Linked DNA regions of Homo sapiens: region 2 is linked to region 1. Evidence: promoter capture Hi-C in human tissues and cell types (Jung and others, 2019). All regions are on one chromosome and are shown on one strand. Each heading gives the region's core, a stretch centred on a gene start or on the middle of the fragment in contact. The rest is flanking DNA. Distances are from core to core; before and after follow the strand shown. Region 1 holds the start of KRTAP21-3 (keratin associated protein 21-3). Region 2 has its middle 34 kb from the start of KRTAP21-3.

The links. The method cuts DNA at HindIII sites, captures the fragments that hold promoters and counts their contacts. A contact is called where the count stands out against the background at its distance.
Region 2: a fragment that was not itself captured here is called in contact with the fragment with the promoter of KRTAP21-3 in region 1 in 2 of the 25 tissues and cell types used here (aorta and stomach).

The regions. Positions count from the first base shown.
Region 1 is chr21:30,716,581-30,721,148 of GRCh38, forward strand. It overlaps KRTAP21-3 (keratin associated protein 21-3), which reads right to left and starts at 2,197. Exons shown (of 1, transcript NM_001164435.1): 1 at 1,945-2,197. The coding sequence starts at 2,179. The coding sequence ends at 2,003. All of the region lies in intron 2 of LOC105372773 (a long non-coding RNA gene), which reads right to left. The HindIII fragment of the contact is 17,351 bases long and covers 1-3,373 here.
Region 2 is chr21:30,682,467-30,687,034 of GRCh38, forward strand. No RefSeq gene overlaps it. Among named protein-coding and RNA genes, the nearest start is that of KRTAP21-3, 34 kb to the right of the region's middle. The HindIII fragment of the contact is 4,885 bases long and covers 75-4,568 here.

The DNA of each region.
Region 1 (4,568 bases), core at 947-3,446:
ACCACCCTGGCCAAACATGGGGAAACTGTCTCTAACAAAAATACAAAAATTAGCCTGGCATGGTGGCAGGTGCCTGTAATCCCAGCTACTCAGGAGGCTGAGGCAGGAGAATTGCTTGAACCCGAGAGGCAGAGGTTGCAGTGAGCGGAGATCACACCACTGCACTCCAGCCTGGGTGACAGAGCAAGACTCTGTCTCAGAAAGAGAAAAAAAAAAAAAAAAAAAGTAAGAGCTAAATAAAAACAGGGAAATCCTTAGAGTTCGGTTGCTCTAGTAATTTTTATGTACTCCATGAATTCCAACAAAAGCATGAGACCAAAAAAAAAAAAAAAAAAGGAAAGAATAATAAAATCAGATGACTTAATTTGGAGGCTGCTACCTCTCAAAAGTTAGCATAGATGAAGCATTACATTGTTTGCTGCAAAACAACATACATAAGGAGTCATTTGCCAACAAAAACAAAATCCTATTATTACGTATCATGCTACATGCTAAGTATACTATCTCATTAACTATGGCAACAGTCCTCTGACATCAGTGTTTATAACCTTTTTGTTTGAATGGAAGAGGAGACTTATGAAATATGAAGATTAAGAAGTTTTCTGACACATGCACAGCTAGGAATGGGAACATTGGCATCTAATGTCACTCTCTGTTGCCCCAAAGCCTGTGCTTTTTAAGAAAGAGAAATGTTGTGACTACACTTTGCCATAGAGGAGAATTGTTTGATATCCCCATATAAATAGTCCTAGACTCACTTTATCATACATAGCAGTCTCATAGAGCAATTCCTTCGCCACCACAGGAATGGAGTCAGGAATTTTTTTTTTTTTTAGATGAGTCTCACTCTGTCACCGGGCTTTCTTAAATAATTTTATAATTATGTAACAAATATAACTGAAGAAAAAAACAACTGATTTTTGACTTTGATTTTGAGAGAGAGAAAGATATGAGGAGAAGTAGAAGGAGGAGGAGAAGGGAGAAGAGGAGGAAGAGGAGAAGTAGATGCAAGGTGATGAACAGGGAAATAGTGTAAGAATGTCATTTCTATTTCAAGTGGAATGTTAGGCAAAGTCTCCTAAGGAGTTCATATTAACCAGAATCCCAAAAAAAGTGACAGAACTGTCTATGAGAATGTTTGAGAAAAGGCCGACGGAATTAGAATTAGAATCATTGTGTTCGTGTGTGTGTGTGTGTGTGTGTGTGTGTAGCCAAGGCGGGTGGATTATAAGGTCAGGAGTTCGAGACCAGCCTGGCCAACATGGTGAAACCCCGTCTCTACTAAAAATACAAAAATTAGCCAGGCGCGGTGGCGGGTGCCTCAATCCCAGCTACTTGGGAGGCTGAAGCAGGAGAATCACTTGAACCTGGGAGGCGGAGGTTGCAGTGAGCCAAGATCGCGCCACTGCACTCCAGCCTGGGTGACAGAGCGAGACTCCATCTCGAAAAAAAAAAAAAATGTTTCAGTGATTCTCTCTCCTCCTCCCTTTTCTTTGGCTGATAATAATCTACTATTCTACACTAAGGATGATATCATTCCACTTCCTTTCTTCATTTTGTATATTTAGAAGTATATCTAATTAACAGGTACATATTTATTTAATATTAAATATGTGGTGGATACTGACAATTAAATAACTCAAGTTTTATGTAGAGTAGAAAAGATAAAGAGAAAAAGAGTTATTGAAAGTTAAGAAGAAATTTCTAAGAAGCTAAGGATCAACTAATCTACATAGTGGTCTGGCTTTCAAGGGGGTAAAACATGCCCCAAATTGGTGTTGACTCACACACGCACACAAAGAGCATTTTATATTTTTCAAAATTTCAAAATAGTCATATTTTCCATCTCTCAGTGAAACCACATTATGTCTATGACTAACAGGTACTTTGAAGACAAATGGAGTTTTCACCAGATGAGTCATTTTTCTCTAACGGAGAACTATCAGGATTGAAGGTGATTAAAGCAGAACAGATCTTTGAGAAACTAAATAAGAAACAATGCTCAATGGCATTTCTTAGAAGCAAAAAATATCAGATCATCTATAACAGAATATTTATTTTCATAACAACCATAATAACCGTTACAGCCACAGTGGGTGCTGTGTATACAGCCATACCCACAACCATAGCAAGAGCCAAATCCACAGCTCCCACACACACTTTTGTAATTGAAATACATAGTGTCAGGAGATGAGAATTCAGCCAGGTAACAGCATTTCTGGAGTTTGGAACCCTTGGGATCTTTCTATATAATAAGAGGTCTGCAAAGTGTGTGCCATCCCTACTTTGCCTTCTCATTCCCACAAGAATTTATATTTAACAAGCTTGTTGTTGTTTTATTCTGTGTCCTAAGAAAGCCTCTCATTTTAGACCTTCATTTAATTCCTGCAAGTTAATCATAGACTGTAAAAAGTAATTTGTACACTCTGTATACATGTTCTCAGTGAGCCCCAAATGTACACTCCACAAATATCATGATGCTAAATCTTGCAGGGAAGTACTTCCCTCAGCTCTAACCCAAAACATTGAGAATCCCCATCCCCAGCCTCCTAGAGAAAGGAAGGGGCTTAGTGATTCCTACCTTTTCAGGTGCCACCAGTATTACCATCCAATCCACAACTGTACTACTCAGGAGAGGATAGGCATAGGAAGGCTAAATTGAGAAACATGCGTTCAATTCTATAATATTAGAATTTATTGAGAACTTTCCTAAAAAACAGAACATGACAGTAGGCACTGCTGAAAATAACATAAAAATAAAAATGAAAAACATAAATAAGACCAAGAACAGACCTTCAATGAACTCCCAGCTTAGTAAGGAAGAGAAACATTTACACAAAAAAAGTCTCAGATTGATGCGGTTAGAGAAAAAGGAAAGAGAAATCCTATGAAATAGACCTCAAAACAATCCAGACCAGGTCCACTTAGGGCCTTCATCCATGCTGGGCTTTCACCTGCAGTTTTTACAATTTAACACCCATATCTATGACTCATTCCCTCATTGCCATCAGAGTGTGTTCAAATGTCACTCAAGGAGGCCCTCCCTGAACAGTATTATTTATAGCTAGCACCCTCCCACAGATATATCTTTATTCTCTACTTAGCATTTATCAAGCCATTTATCACCATATGATAGACTTGCATTTTACTAATTTTGTTGACTGTTTTTCTCACTGGAATATAGGATATCTGTGAAGGCAGGAATTTCTTTTTTTCTTTAGGGAATAAAATAGATTTTAAAAAAGTATAATAAACTGGGGCCAAATAATAAAGAGCTTTGAATATTAAGGTAAAAAGTGTGGAATTCATTCTAAAGGTAATGGAGAACCAGAGAAGATTTTGAGCAAATTAATGGCATAATCAGCTCAATATTTTGAGATACAGAAATCACAACCATTTATCCAGTGTACTTAGTAATGTCCTATTTCTTCGAAACCATTATTTGCTAAATTATTCTCTTGAGCAAAGATCTTTCCTTGAGCACTAGCCATGGTTGCATTGAATTTGTGGCATTTTATTTTCCAATTATGTTTCCAGGAACACTAGGACTGGGAGGTATTAAAATGTATTCCAAGAAATAGAGTTTCCAAGATTTTAAAATGTGCTATCAAACACTATAAAATAAAAACACCTTCAGAGTATTCACAATTTACATATGCGCTGTAAGTTTTACTTGCACCTAAATGCCAGGTATTGTAGTAGGAGTACAAACTGGAACGCCATGATAGCATTTTAATTATCCTTAGGAGGACAACTGTGTAAAGAAAACCAGCTTGACATTCTTCAATAAACTAACATATTTGTGTAACAAAATAACTTTTTAAGTTGAGAAATAACTTTTAAGTTCTTTTGAAAGTTATCGTCTTAGAGTATATGTTCAAATATGAAAATCTTATGAGTGTTCAAGTTTCCAAATCACTAAAGAGACTGTTGGCGTTTTTATACAGCACAAGCAAATAGGCCACATTAAGTCAAACAGGTCATCTTTTTTTTTTTTTTTTTTTTTTTTTTGAGACGGAGTCTCGCTCTGTCGCCCAGGCCGGACTGCGGACTGCAGTGGCGCAATCTCGGCTCACTGCAAGCTCCGCTTCCCGGGTTCACGCCATTCTCCTGCCTCAGCCTCCCCAGTAGCTGGGACTACAGGCGCCTGCCACCGCGCCCGGCTAATTTTTTGTATTTTTAGTAGAGACGGGGTTTCACCTTGTTAGCCAGGATGGTCTCGAAGGTCATCTTTTAAAATAACCATTGGGTAAGCAGTTTTGCCTAGATTAAACTGAATATTTTGAAAATAAACCTTTGATGGGACTCAATTACAAAATTAGTCTCAACTCAACCTAAATATGGTATTTTCTTGCCCATGAGAGTTGAAAATCTATATTTAAGATGCTCAGTGAGGATTGAATCTTAGACAATCTGAAAAAAGCTTCTAAAATTTGGTACCTGAGCACAGTGGCTCACACCTGTAACTTCACCACTTTGGGAGGCTAAGGCAGGAGGATTACTTAAGGGCATGAGTTCCAGACTAGCCTGGGCAACATAATGAGACCCTGTCTCTACAAAATAAAATA
Region 2 (4,568 bases), core at 1,267-3,766, 34 kb before region 1:
TTCTTGCTCAAAATTGGATGCCATCTTTTTAAAATATAGCTACTACCTATTTTGTGATTATCATTAGATAGCACAGATAAAATTAATACATAACTTTTAAATTTTTCAACTTTTATTTTAGATATGGGGATACATGTACAGGCTTATTACATGGGAATATTGCATGATTCTGAGGTTTGAGGTACAGATCCCCTCACGCAGGTAGTAAGCATAGTACCTGATAGATACTAATATTTCAATCCATACTCCCCTTCTTCCTGCCCCCTTCCCCACTCTAGTAATCCTCAGTGTGTATTGTTCCCACATTTATGTCCACGTGTGCTCAATGTTTAGCTCTTATGGATATGATTTCATTCTTTTTTATGGCTGCATAGTATTCTGCGGTGTGTGTGTGTGTGTGTGATATCACATTTTCTTTACCCAGTCTACCATTGATGGGCACCTGAAAATGATCAAGGACATCATTTGAGCATAAGCAGGAACATTTTTGCTAAAGTCTACTGTTAACTAGAAAGTGTCAAAAAACACTTTATGGATAGTAAGAACACAGAAGATTCATAAAGTTTTAAAACATCCCTAAAAAGTAAGCAAGGTGGCTTACTATGCTCCAGGCATTTGAGATATGTCAGTGAATCAAACTTACAAAGACCCATGCTCTCATGGAGTTTATACTGTAGCAATTGCATTCATTTTCTATATCTGTTGTAACAAATTACTACTATCTTGAAAGCTTAAAAGCACAAATTTATTTTCTCACAGTTCTGGAAGCCAGAAGTCTGAAATCAGTATAATTGGTCCCAAATCAAGGAAATCAAGGAGTCTCCAACACCTCATTCCCTCCAGAGGATCTAGGGGAGAATCTGTTCCTTGCGTCTTCCAGCTTCTGGTGTCTACAATTATTCCCTGGCTTGTGCCCACATCACTCTAGTCTCTGCCTCTGTGGTCGCATTGCTCCCACTTATGTCCATCAAATTTCCATCTGCTTCTCTCTTACAGGAACACTCATAGCTGCATTTAGAGCCTATGTAGATAATATAAGATAATCTCTCCTTCCTAAGATCCTTAATTTAATCACATCTGCAGAGATCATTTTTCCAAACAAGGTAACATTTCTTAGGTTCTGGGCATTAGGACCTGGTGTCTTCAGGGGCGTTATTCAGCCTGCCACGGCAATGGAAACGCGCAATTCACCAAGTGATAAATAAATAATATAGTAGTCAGGCCAAGAACAGTGGTTCACGCCTGTAATCCCAGCACTTTGGGAGGCCAAGGCAGGCAGATCACTTGAGGTCAGGAGTTCGAGACTAGCCTGGCCAACATGGTGAAACCCCGTCTTTACTGAAAAATACAAAAATTAGCTGGGAGTGATGGCACACGCCTGTAGTCCCAGCTTCTCGAGAGGCTAAGGCAGGAGAATCTCTTGAGTCTGGGCAGCGGAGGTTGTAGGGAGCCGAGATTGCGCCACTGCACTCCAGGCTGGGAGACAGAGAGAGACAACGTCTCAAAAAAAAAAGAAAAAGATAGAGAAAATTGATATACACTTGAGCCCAGGAAAGGGAGGTTGCAGTGAGCCCAGATCGTGCCATTGCACTCCAGCCTGGGCAACAGAGCGAGACTCTGTCTCAAAAAAAAGATATGGTAATTAGATGGTGATAAGGGACTTAGGGGGAAATGTAGAAGATGGTAAAGGGACCAATGATTCCAGGAGTTGGAGGATAGAGAGAGGAAGAAATTACCTTTTAAAGTACTTTCTTTGGATAAGCTTCATTGAGCAAAAAGAAGGAGAAAAAGGAGTAGACCTCACTGATACTTGCAGGAAGAGCTTCCAAGCAGCAGACAGGAGCAGCCGGAGTCCAGCCTTTAAGGGGCAGCTGGCTTGCAGCATTCTCGCTACTAAAAGTTGTGAGACCAAATGAGCTTTTAGGATGACAGTGAAGCAGATAGAAATGGAGAAATCAAGAGGTCTAAGACTGGGACAGAGGCATCTTAACATTCAAATGTCAGAGAAAATAGAGATAGGAGAAAGGAGACCGAGAAAGCTTGGCCAAGGAAACAGGGAAAGGCAAGAAAGGATGGAGACTTGTAGGTCAAAGGAAGAAAGATGTTCAAAGAGAAATGAATAATGGACTGGCAAAGGCTCGTGATAGGTCAAGTAAGTTGAGAACAGAGAACTGATCTTCGTTATTTAGCGGAAGGCATTATAGATAAAGTACACAGGATCGGATTTGGCAGGCAACTGTGGGCAAAAAGCTGACTGCAATGAGTTTGAGACTCTTCTGAGTCATGGATCAGCAATCATTCCACTAAACCGTTCTGCCTAAGCGTAAGATAATATCTCATTTGCTGTAGAGTTCATAATTTGCCTCTTTAGGTAGTTCTACAGAAAAAAAGAGCTAAGTGGCTCTTTTCTACTTAAAGTGCATATGTTTCTCTCATGATTTTCCAGATGTTTGATTTATTTTCTGCAAGCTCGAGTATCATCAGACTAGATGCTTTGCTCTACAAACACAGCTGTGTGAATTTGAACACTGATGAGAGATTCACCCTTATGGAGGCATTGTCAAGGGTCACCTCCTTATCCTGGCCTAGATGGCCAGTCCATAGTGAATAGAACAATGGAAGCAAAATTATATCGATCTCTGGCAGGGCAAAGTGTGATGAGGATAATTTGGAATAACTCCACAGAATTTTAAAAAGTACTCCAATTTCTTTCTTTCTCTCTTTCTTTCTTTCTTTCCTTCTTTCTTTCCTAATTTCATTGTTTCTTTCTTTGTTTCTTTGACAGAGTCTCGCTGTGTCATCTAGGCTGGAATGCAGTGGTGCGATCTCTGCTCACTGCAACCTCCGCCTCCTAGGTTCAAGCGATTCTCCTGCCTCAGCCTCCAGAGTAGCAGGAACTACAAGCGGGCGCCACCATCCCTGGCTAATTTTTGTATTTTTAGTAGAGACAGGGTTTCACCATGTTGGCCACGCTAGTCTCGAACTCCTGACCTCAAGTGATCCATCTCCCTCGGCCTCCCATAGTGCTGGGATTACAGGCGTGAGCCACCGCTCCCGGCCATACTTTCTCACATAGACACAAATGCACAGAGACAGGAACAGAGGCAGAATGGGTAGCCCTGCACAGGCTTTGTATCATTCTCCCTCTGGCACAGCAATGGCTATTTTCCACTGTAGTAACTTCCTGGCTTAACACATAAGATGATAAACTTTATGGATTGTTTAATCCTGCTTTTTCCATAAAAGCTTTCAAGCAGCTTTAAAAATATGATGATTCTGGAGGAAAATGTGTAAAATAATCTGGACCAGATAAGATGTCAAATGCAAAGACAGTACTAGGAGTAATATTTCACCATGGGGATGCTGGTCACAAGAAACTACATAACCATTACAGGCATCTCTGAATTTTTCTTCAAATTTCCTGACATCTACCATAGAGGTGTTGTATTAGCAAGCTCAAGTTCCCGTAACAGAATACCACAGACTAGGTGGCTTAAACAACAGAAATTTATTTCCTTACATTTCTGGAGGCTCTAAGTCCAAGATCAAGGTGCCAGCAAGCTAGGTTTCCGGCGAGGCCTCTCTCCCTGGCTTAGAGATGACTACTTTCTTGCTGTGTCTTCATGTGGCCTTTTCACTGTTACTGTCTCTTCCTCTTCTTATAAGGCCACCAATACTTCTGGACTAGGGCCCCACTTGTGGATTATAACCCCATTTAACATTACTTACCTCTTTAAAGGCCCTACCTCCAAATACAGTCATATTAGGGATGAGGGTTTCATCATCTGAATTGGAGGTTTAGGGGAGGAAGATACAATTCAGTTATAACACGAGGCATGAATTTCTGGGGTCTCCCTTTTGCTAAGTTACATAAACCAGGGGGGATAGTAGGACTGGCACCTCATTGTAAACCTTTAGGAGGCTAATCAAGGTTCTCATCTGAAGGAATATTGACTGCACCTTTAAATAGAACTAGGATGTTTTCATTAAAAGAAAATTCTGGAACATCAAACAAATATTCACGGTCTCCAGATTCTTTTCTATTGATCCATATTCACAGACAAAGTTTTGTTGTTATTTTTAATTAAGTAGTGTGTATGCTTACAAAGGAATATATGTAATTTATACATGAGTTCTGAAGCATAATAATGAACACACCACTCACTGTATGAGCTAGAATTTTAACCATACCATTGAATTAGCCTGTGTGATCTGACCTCATCCAAATACCTCTATGTATGCCCACAAGAGATGTGTTATTTTGCAGTTTCAAATAATACTGCTCTAAAGGGTCTTCCACATGTCTCTAAGCACCGGAGTGTTTACCCAGGGGGAGAATTGAAGGTTTTCATAAAGTATGTTCAGATCTAGTTTCAGGAAACAATGCTAAATTGTGATCCAAAGCAGTAGTATCAATTTACACTCCCACCTACATGACATAGACGTTTTCATTGCTTTACCTTCTCAACAACTCTTAGAATTATCTTTTTAGTTTTAAATATATATCATTGTGGTCTTCATGTTTCTGTTTATTCATAAGTTTGAGCATCTTTTAAAATGTTTATTTG